Linked DNA regions of Homo sapiens: region 2 is linked to region 1. The links are contacts of gene promoters, found by promoter capture Hi-C in blood cells and fetal thymus (Javierre and others, 2016). All regions are on one chromosome and are shown on one strand. Each heading gives the region's core, a stretch centred on a gene start or on the middle of the fragment in contact. The rest is flanking DNA. Distances are from core to core; before and after follow the strand shown. Region 1 holds the start of SCUBE1-AS1 (SCUBE1 antisense RNA 1). Region 2 has its middle 25 kb from the start of SCUBE1.

What was found. Contacts are between HindIII fragments. The CHiCAGO score rates a contact against its expected background, and 5 or more counts as called.
Region 2: a contact is called between a fragment that was not itself captured here and the fragment with the promoter of SCUBE1-AS1 in region 1, in 6 of 17 cell types (M2 macrophages, M1 macrophages, M0 macrophages and 3 more). The highest score is 6.6, in M2 macrophages.

The regions. Positions count from the first base shown.
Region 1 is chr22:43,272,255-43,277,622 of GRCh38, forward strand. SCUBE1-AS1 (SCUBE1 antisense RNA 1) reads left to right here and starts at 3,688. Exons shown (of 2, transcript NR_134582.1): 1 at 3,688-3,757. The region is part of intron 4 of SCUBE1 (signal peptide, CUB domain and EGF like domain containing 1); the gene reads right to left. The HindIII fragment of the contact is 3,024 bases long and covers 994-4,017 here.
Region 2 is chr22:43,365,985-43,371,285 of GRCh38, forward strand. No RefSeq gene overlaps it. Among named protein-coding and RNA genes, the nearest start is that of SCUBE1, 25 kb to the left of the region's middle. RefSeq lists an enhancer at 3,649-4,150. The HindIII fragment of the contact is 4,109 bases long and covers 1,736-5,301 here.

The DNA of each region.
Region 1 (5,368 bases), core at 2,438-4,937:
AAGCTGGCCCACTCTGCCTGGTCCCCTTCCCACCCACTCCACACGCTCGCAGCACCGTCCCTTCTGCTCTGACACCGACTCTGGGCCCTCTTTCAGGGTTCAAAGGCTCCTGCCAGGCCCCAGAGGACTAGTCGTCCTGGGTGTGCACAGGCCTTGGCTCAGCACTCACCACCCAGCTGTTCCAGCCACAAGAGTCCACATCTTGTATTATCTGGCTCCCAACGCCTTCCACGTTCAACTGCTTGTGTGCTTACGTGCCCCTTCATTCCACAAATATTTAGGGAGTGCCTCCTTGGTTTCCAGCCCCAGGATTCCAGGCAGGCGCAGGCCTTTCTACCAACCAGCCCGCTCCTTGTCTGCGCCTCCTCCTGATCTGCTCTCCTAGGGGCCGGACCACAGTGAAGCCCGAATGGGTGCCCAATAAACACCTGCAAGGTGGTTGGTTGATGAGCTCACCGGGCACGGACATGGGCCACAGCTCCGAGAGAAATTGTCCTGCTTTGTGTTTACACGCAAGCAAAAACCAGAATGGATTGGTTTTCTGGAAAGCTAGAACTGGAAGGCGCCTTGGAGAGCATCTAGGTGAAGCCTCTCCATTTCCACTGAGGAGGCTGAAGCCCACGAGACAGTGACTGTCCTGGGTCACGCGGCTGTGACTTGCCCTGGTCACGCAGCTGTCAGTGCAGAGTTCACATGCAGCCTCCCACTTTCGGTCAAGCTCAGCGCTCTTTCTTTCACATCAAGAGGTGGCACACAAGGACTGCTGCCCTTGACCTTTCAGCTCACGCATTCCTTCACTCCCTCAATTGACAAACCTTTGCTAAGCACCAGCTGTGTGCAGGCCCTGGGCTGAGACCGAGGAGGAAGGGTGTCCAACCCCACACGCTCATTCTCAGTTTGAGACCCAGTCACTGCCATGCGGTTCACTGGCAGGCACGCACTGTGTACACAGATGGAGACAGACAGAGCTGGGACTGTGATTGGCTCCTGGCAAGCTTCTCCGAAAGCAGGATGGATGCCAGCCTCCCTTCAGCACCCTCTCCCCACCCCAGGGCCTTGACCAGTCCTGGCACCGGGAACCCCTAGAAAGCTGCCTCTGTGAAATGGGAGGTGGTTCTGTCTCTGACAGTTGGGAGGACCAAGAAACATTTGCAGAGCCACAGAAAGCTCTATGGGTTGGGCAACACCGAGGTGGGGCAGGTTGATTCGACAGCGCTGATTTGCGTCCCCATCCCAGCCCTTTCTAAGGCATGTGGTTTTAGAACTTGTTGTTGCCTAATTTATAAAGTGGGGAGACTAAAACCCTCTTTTTTTTTTTTTTTTTTTTTTTTGAGACAGAGTCTCACTCTGCCGCCCAGGCTGGAGTGCAGTGGTGTAATCAAATCACAGCTCACTGCAGCCTTGAACTCCAGGGCTCAAGCAATCCTCCTGCCTCAGCCTCTGGAGTAGCTGTGACTACAGGTGTGCGCTACCACACCTGACTAATTTTTGTATTTTTTGTAGAGATGAGGTTTCACCATGTTGTCCAGGCTGGTTTCGAACTCCTGGGCTCAAGCGATCCTCCCACCTCGGCCTCCCAAAGTGCTGGGATTACAGGTGTGAGCCACCACGCGCAGCTTAAAACTTTCTTTTGTAAGAGTGTTCAAGGGCAGTAACAGAGGTGATGGGCTCCAGCTCAGATCCCTCAAGCTGCAGGGGGTGCTCTGTAAGGCTGGCCCGCTCCCTCTCCCCTGCCTGCTGGCTCCTCACCTGGAGCCCCTGCCCTGCCTCGTTTCTTCCCCGTTCCTCTCCCTTGATTCCTGAAATTTCCCAGGCTGGTCACTAGGTGTCACCGCAATCAAGTTTTTCTGCCCCCACGGACCTGAGGTCTTGCACCAGAGAAGTCAAGAGTCAAGAGACTCACTCACCTCCTGAGCTTTACTCCCTCAAGGCCCGGGAGGCTGGAGGTGTCCTTCTTTCCTCCCTCAGGTTGCCAGGTTTAGCAAATAAAAATACAGGACGCCTCATTCAATCTGAATTTCAGGTGGACAATCAATACTTCCTGAGTATAAGTATGTTCAAAAGTTGCATGGGTCATACTTATAATAAAAAAAATTACTTGTTTATCTGAAATCCCAGTTTAAATGGGCACTCTGTATTTTATCTGGCAACCCTGCCCTGCCCTCCACAGGGACCCTAAAGGAAGCCATGGCGGACGGACAGGCTGTCTAGTGCCACCCTTAGCTCCTACTGCCAGAGAGCTCAGGCAGGTGCCCAGGCCATGGCCTGCCACGAACAGGGAAAAGGTCTGTTTTTCCTTTCCAGCAGGTGACGAGATGGAGGGCGCCCAGGCATGGGGGCCAAGGTGGTAGCATCCCAAAAGTGTTCCCACAGCAGCCCTGGGAACCCGGAAGGAGACAGTGGTAAGAGCACTGTGGACACACGAACAGGAGGATCTGTAAGGCTGTGAGCAGCGTCCCCGAGCCCCAGCCAGTGACTCTCCACCACTGTCCACCCACATGCCGCAGAAAGGAGCAGGGGCTGCAGAGCCACAGCCTGGGGCTGGAGTCCCGGCTGCGTCACAAGCAGTGGCGCTCACTTCCTCTCCCTCAGCTGTGCATGAGGGGCGGCAGCGGGTACTTCTCATGGCCCTTCGAGGACAAAAGGGGCTCATGGGCTCGGGGCACAGTAGGTACGTTTGGATCATCGGCAGGTACAGCCACTTTGGGGACATAAGCCAATTCCCGCCACCGACTCAAACTTAGTCTGGTGACTTGTCGCTGCACTCAACAGACAAACGTGTGGGCGATCTGTGATGTGCCCTGGGGGCACAGGAGTCAGGCGCTCTGTGATGTGGAGGCGAGGCTGGGCAGCGGGAGGGAAAGGTGTTCTGGAGCAGGAACAAGCCCATGCAGAGGCCTGGGGAGTGAGGCTGGGGGTCTCTGCGCTTCTGACAGACAAACTGGGGCTGGAGAGGCCTCGTGGAGAGAAGCCGGCAGACCTGCAAGCTGACCAGCTGTGGAAGGGAGCAAGGTGGGACAGCAGTGCAGGACCCAGCAAACCACGACGCGCTGGGCGTCCCTCTCCTGGCGGTGGGCTGGGCACACTGCTCTGCACGAGGGGTGTGAAGGCACTTTGTGAACGGATGATGCACACACTTCGGGCATGAGTCCCTCATGAGATGGTCTCATCTCCTCTACACTCCCATGCGGCATGTTTTCCTCTGCACCCTGCCCTGTGTGAGACGTGAGAAACACAAGGATGACTTAAACACATCCCTGCCCTTCTTGGGAGCTCATGGACTGGTCCTGCAGTAGAGGGCTGAACCATTTCAAACACATGAGTGCAAGTAAAGAGGAAGACGTGCACGCCTGCCTAAGAGTCAGAGACAGCTTCAGAGAGGAGGTGAAAGTGCGCTGGGTTTTGATGGATGACTAAGAGTTCTCCAGGAAGGGAGGGGAATGGGAAATGGCAGTAAAGGCAGAGGATGACACATACCGAGGTTGTAATCAGTAAAGGGCACGTGTGCCGTAACAGGGAGAACAACAGGCAGATGGGGAGGAACCAGGAGAGAGGAACTGGACTGTGGGAGGCCTTGGGAGGCAGGAAGGCAGCAGTGCCTGACAATGGAGGAACTCGGAGGGGGGCGGAGAAAGCGCCCCGGCTGCAGGATGCAGGAGGGAAGGGGGATGAGGCGGAGGTAGGGACACCAATTAGCAACCACAACCTTTGAAGAAGGCAGGGCAACAGGGGTGAGGAAGCTGGCTGGGTTTGGGAGGTGAGTAGAGCTCGGACGTGGGATCCGGTCACACTAGGATGTGGGAGCCACACAGGGGAAGGGTGAAGGCAGCACCCCAGCGCTGGTGCCCCACTGATGGGGGACGCGCTAGGAAGCACAGGTCTGGGAGGATGGGAAGATGCTGCGTTTGGTTTTGGGCAGGTGGGAATTCTGTAGCTGGGGTCCCCGTCTAGGGGACAGTTGGTACTGGGGTCAGAGCTGGAGAAGTGGCCACTGCTGGTCAGCAAGGAGACTCAAGAAGCTTAGGGGAGAGCTAGGAGAGGGCTGAGGCAGAGGAGGAGCCAGGATCGGGGGCTGAGGAGGAAGGGAAGAAGTCCCATGGGACGTACATGCTGAAAGAGTCTGGTGACATAATCAAGCAGCCACCAGGCCGGGAGACAAAAACCCACCTGGCTGGCCTCAGGCGGGTGACGAGGACCTGGGGAATGCTGCGGCCAGGGGTGGCCAGGCAGACGTCCCACCAGGAGATTGGCCTTGTGGCCACAGTCACAACCCAATTTCCCTAATGAGGCTAGGGAGGGCTCACACCACTCCCTAATGACCCAGGATGACCTCGGCTGCTTCCCCACTCTGCCAACCAGGCATCTGCCCGGTGGTTTCCGAACCCACACTCCAGATCTGCATGACTTTCCATGCGTAGGGCCTGTGCCCACAAACCCCAGGTGGGAAGCCAGGCTGTGGGCTACGGTGTAGGGGGTGGGCACTGGTCTGGAGCCTAGGGGCCTGGGACAAGTTCCAGCTCTGCCCCCAACATGCTAAGTGACCTCTGACAGGACACATGGTGTTTCCAGGGCCTCTGCTACTTCACTCTAGAACAGGCGTGCAGGCCAGCTTCCCTCCAGGGCAGCATGCTTTCGGTTCTCACGCACGTCAACTCCATGACCTCGCCTCAGCTTTTCCTGACTGCCTGCTCCCTACAGACCCCAGGCTGGACACTGGGGGGCCAGCGGGTCCTTGTGTCCAAGGGCATATCCTCACTTGGGGGAGAAAGGCCCGGGAGCAGAGACATGAGAGACAGGGCAGGGAGGCTGAGGGTGGAGGCCGAATGAGACAGAGGCAGGGATGCGTAGGTTCCACCTGGGGGATCAGGAGGTGTGCGGGGAAAAGGTGTAGAGGGTTCTCAGTGAGCGATGGTCAGTCAGGATGAGCGGGAGTTCCAGACAGAGGGAGCTGTGTGGGCAGAGGCCGGGATGAGAAGTTCACTATGGCTGGTTCATGACATGCCAAGCAAGGACAGGCTGCAGAGAACCACATTCCTCTCAGGAGCCATGGGAAGGTCTTGAGTGGGGAATGACAGAGCCAGAGGGTTGGGCAGAGCAGTGGTTCTGGCTGCTACCAGAAGGCTTGCGGGGCAGGGAGGCCTGTGAGGCAGCTGCCGCACTAACTCAGGCAAAAGACGGCAGCGCAGCCCTAGGCAGAGGGCAGCATGGCGAGACAGGGGCTCCTTGTGTCACAGGGCATCTGGGCTGCACAGCACCCCTGCCCCTGGCCCCCCATCCATTGGTTCATCAAGTGTCTTTGATCTTAGGAGGCGGTTGGGCCTGGGTGCAAATCTTGGCTTTGCTACTTCTTCACTACGGACAAGTCTCT
Region 2 (5,301 bases), core at 2,540-5,039, 94 kb after region 1:
AGAATCAGTGAAGGGAGTCAGCCTTAATTCCCTAGGCGATGGGGAGCCACAGATGGTTCAGGTCAAGATTGGTGTTTGAATGGCTCACATTTAAGACACCAGGAAAGGCAGCCCTGGGGTCCAACATCACTTATGGCAGGAAAGCGACCACCTTTGCAACAGAATTGGCTTCCTAACCTTCCTCAGCTGCAGCTTGGGAATGAGACCAGAGTCCTGAATTCGTGGGCTGGGCCAGGCTGGAGCTCCCGATGTGTGTTTGCTTCTCTGGTGTGTAGGAGGGAAGAGTGGGCAGGGGTGACCGCCCACCCACCCCAGACACACAGAGGTAAGATCACCTCACTCAGCTTTGTCATTTGGTGAGTAAGTTTGAAAAATATCAATTTATTTCATTCTCCTGTTTCACAGATGGGAAAACTGAGGCCCAGGGAGGGAAGGGGATGAGCTGAGGAGCTTGTGGTAGGTAAGTGGCAAAGGTGAAGAAATCAAAATGTCTTACATTTGTACCACAACTTGCAATTTCCTGACAATCCCCCTACTCACCCCACCCCACTCCACCCCACTGCCCCCTTTTTTTTTTTTTCTGAGACGGAGTCTCACTGTGTCCCCCAGGCTGGAGTGCAGTGGTGTGATCGTGGCTCACTGCAAGCTCCGCCTCCTGGGTTCATGCCATTCTCCTGCCTCAGCCTCCCGGTAGCTGGGACTACAGGCGCCTGCCACCACGCCTGGCTAATTTTTTGTATTTTTAGTAGAGATGGGGTTTCACAGTGTTAGCCAGGATGGTCTCGATCTCCTGACCTCGTGATCCGCCCGCCTTGGCCTCCCAAAGTGCTGGGATTACAGGCGTGAGCCACCGCACCTGGCCCCCACTGCCCTTTTAAAAAATATACTTAACAATGAAAACAAAACAATATTAATGCTATAATTTTTGCTGCTGGAGAAGGTATAGGAACACAGCTCACATACAATTGGTCAGAGTATAAACGACTGTAACCCTACGGGAGGCAGTTTGGAAACATCTTTCAAAATTTTCATAGCAAACCAGCATTTACTGCGAAGTTCCATTGCCAAGAATTTCTACTACAAATGTGTTTACACATGGATGCAAAGATGTGTGTACAAGGATGTTCATCATGGTACCACTTTTCATTCTAAACTGGGAGGAAAAAAACCCTAAATGTCCATAAACAGGGACTGGTTGAATAAATGTTGCTACATCCACACATGAAGTATTATACAGCCATTAAAAGGAGTGGAATAGACCAATTCATACTCCCACTACAGTGTTTGAGAATGGCTATTTTTCCATATATTTGGGGTATTTTCAAACTTACAAATCTTGGCCAATTGGATAGGTTTTTAACCTATCCCCAAAGGGCATTGTATTGTTTCTTGATGATGAGTGAGCTTGAACATTTTTCATATGGCTACCATTTACTTGAATTTGTTTTTCTGGGAGTTGCTTTTTCATATTCAGATTTTGTCAATTATCTGTTAGGTTTTAAGTCTTTCTTTCATTTACTTGTATAAACATGTTCTAAATTAAAGCAATTAATTCTGTGAATGTCAGTCCCTGTTCAGCTCTGTCTTGACTTGGTATATACCTTTTTTATTCACCTAGAAATGAAAAAATGTTACGTAGTCAAAATTGTTGCACTTTGATTTTTTGATATAGAAGGTCTTTTCTAAATAGTTGAATCAGTTCTCCTTTTCCTTCATGATTTCCTCAATCATTTAAAGCTTGCAAGGTTCTCATTCCTTTAGAGTCCGGTTCAATATTCCTTTATTGTTTTGGCCAGCCTAAGATTTGATTTGCTTTATAAATAATTTATTCTTTAGTATATGTGGAAAATGGACTTAAACTTATGTTTCTTTTCATGATGTCCCAACTTCACAGTCTGAATGTTCTTCCCATTGTTCATTGTCCAGAGAAGACACCATTATCACGTATTGAACTGTTTTATGGAGGAAAGCCTGTTTCTCATCTCCCCATTAATCATGTATTTTAATATCAGAGAGGGCTTATTCCCCATCTTTTTCAAAATATTCTTGGGACTTCTCACCCATTGATTTCCCCAAATGAATTTTATTGTGGCTTCTGTGTTCTGTATCCTGCCTATAAAGATCTTTCCTTTCCAAAGATTGTAAGTTCACCTATGTTTCTTTTAGAATTTTTAAGGTTCAATTTTTTGGTTTAAATTTTGGACCCATGTGGAACTGATCTGGGTGTAGGGGGTGAGGTAGGGATTCTGTTTTATTTTTTCCAGATGGCCGCTACCCACTTATCTCTATGCCTTACTTTGAACAATGCACCTTTCCCCTCCGATGTGAAATTCCTTCTCTCATTCACGTGCTGAAATCCTACATATTTCCATCCATTTCTGCACTCGCGTCTGGATGGAACTGTCTACTTCTTTTCCAGGGCTAAACTTTAAAAGTTATTGTACTTTCCTAAGATGTTTTAACATCTGGTAAAGCCAGCCCTCCTCCACTACTTTTGTTTTTCCTCAGAATTTCCCTGGCTGGTCTCGCACGTTTATTTTTCCAGATGAAATTTGGTATCATTTCGTCAAGTTCCAAAAAATAAAAGAAAATAAAAACCCTGTTGGTTTAAGGCTTTTCTTACCAGCCAGTGTAGTGTTTTCACAGATTATTGATATTAACCCTTTGCCATTCATTTGGTTGTCAATTTAGTTCCCCTCTACCCCCATTAGTTTTTTATTCTGTGGTATGGGAGATTTGTTTTTTGTTTTTATATAGTCGTCAATCACTTTTGCTTCTCCTCAAAAAAAAAATCTCCTTAATGATTTTAAAGCTCGAAGACTTCCCATTCCTCCTGAGATCTGGTTAATATTCACTTATATTTTTGACCAGCCCTCCTAGGGTTTGCTTTGCTTGATAAATAATTTATTTTTTTCAGCATCTGTGAAAGATATGAAGAAGGCATCCAAGCTGATTTTTTTTTTTTTTTGAGATGGAGTTCTGTTCTTTTTGCCTAGGCTGAGTGCAATGGTGTGATCTTGGCTCACTGCAACCTCCGCCTCCCCGGTTCAAGCGATTCTCCTGCCTCAGCCTCCCAAGTAGCTGGAATTGCAGGCATGCACCACCACGCCTGGCTAATTTTGTATTTTTAGTAGAGACGGGGTTTCTGCATGTTGGTCAGGCTGGTCTTGAACACCTGACCTCAGGTGATCCACCTGCCTCGGCCTCCCAAAGTGGTGGGATTACAGGTGTGAGCCACTGCGCCCGACCCCCAAGCTGCTTTTATATTGGCTACTCCTTCCATTGTTCTTTGCCCACTGAAGACAGCTTGGTCATGTATTAAATTCATGTACATGAGAACATTTCTCTGCTCTCTGGTCAGTTCCATTCATGCCAGCTCTGCTGTTTAATCAGAGACTTAATCATCTATTTGAACATCTGAGAGGGCTGATTGCGCACATTTCTCAAAATATTCTTTGGATTTCTCACCCTTTTATTTCCCAAAATACCCCAGCCTGCATGATTCATTTGGCCCTCGAAGGAACCCTGAGAAGTATTAATTCCACTAGCTGGATGTGCTGGGGTTCAAAAATTGCTAAGGGCCAGATGAGACGACACCGTTATCATAGCTGTGAGAGGGAAAAGTTTGCCTCTGCATCTGAAACTCCCAGAGGAAGGAGGTTGTCTCCATTACTGAGTTTGACAGGAAGAGAAAAAGAGGGGCGTGGTGGATATGCAGTGGTGTCTAATACTCAGCCTCAGATGATCTGTTGTGGGGGCCATCACTTGGCCCTCTTACGTAAAAGCTGCCGCCCACAGTGAGTCAGTGTGGGGGACATCTGGGAAAGAGGCAGGGAGTCCCATCTGGACTGGGGAGTGGGGACCAGGGTGGGATTGGAGATGGGATGAGGGTCTCCTGCCTCCCTGGGGCACCACTGCTCTGTGGATTCTACTTTGTCTCTGTGACCTCAGGTGCTTGGTGTGTCTCTTGGGGGCCTCTTATGTCCGTGCCCATGTCATTAGCGTGTGAGGTGACAGCCCTCTGCCGCCCCAGCTTCTTTTTTGGAGCACGGGTCTCAGATGAGGGGCTGGCTGAGCAGCTGTGGGAGGACCCCTCATTTGCAACTGACATCGATAGGTCAAGCCCAGCAGCCCCTGAATGAGCAGGAAGATTGGTGCAGCTGGGGTCTTCCACAGGCAGGCGATTCCCTCCCTGCTGGGATCGTCAACCAATCTGGGGCCGTAACTCACACGGGGAACCACCCCCAACCCCCAACCACCGTGCTTGGTGTTGGAGGGCCAGAGGGTGTCTCCCAAGTCAAAGACAAAGTCTCCAGGGCAAACAGGAAAAGCCATGGCTACCCCGTCCCCGGGGCCTCACCTGGCAGCCCTGGCTTGCAGGCTCTGTCTAGGATCCGGGAACAGTGTTTATTTCTTCTCTTTATTTTTAGCTTTTATTTTCATGAAACTTATACAGGCAAATAGCTCTACAAGGTTTGTTAAGAGGAACAGCAGTTCCCTGTTCCTGTCCTTCACCCCCTCCTGTCCCCTCCCCAGAGGCAACTATTTCACCTCCTTTAACCAATTATTTTGTTTTTACCCTGTGTCATTTGCCTCTGAGACTGCATCTTTTTTTTTTTTTTTTTGTGACGGAGTCTTTGCTCTGTCGCCCAGACTGGAGTGCAGTGGCATGATCTCGGCTTATTGTAATCTCTTCCTCCTGGGTTCAAGTGATTTTCCTGCCTCAGCCTCTTGAGTAGCTGGGATTACAGGCGCCCGCCACCACACCTGGCTGATTTTTGTATTTTTAGTACAGGTGGGGTTTTGCCATGTTGCTCAGGCTGGTCTTGAACTCCTGACCTCAGGTGATCTGCCTGCCTCAGCCTCCCAAAGTGCTGGGATTACAGGCATGAGCCACTCTGCCTGGCCTCTGAGACTCCATCTTGATTTTTTTTTTTTTTAGTTGTCAGCCTCATTGGTTGACCTCTGTTTCTGGAAGGTGAGGATATCGCTGCCTCCTGACCCCTACTCACTGTGCGCACCTGCCCCCCACCCTCAGACCTGTTTTTAGGACACCAGCATTGTCAGTGGTGAAGGGCATGGAGTTCTAAGCCACTTTTCCGGGTTCTAGTCCTCCTTCTGCCACTTAGCTGTGTGATCCTGGACAAATTCTTCAGCCTCTTGGTTGATTGCCTTCTACCTGGCCTTGCTTTCAATGAGTCAATTCATGTAAATGGCTTCCAGCAGCAAATAAATGACTGTCCTCTTTGTCAACCTTTTCCGCACAGTCGCACTCCCTACCCCGACCCCAGCAAATCATTT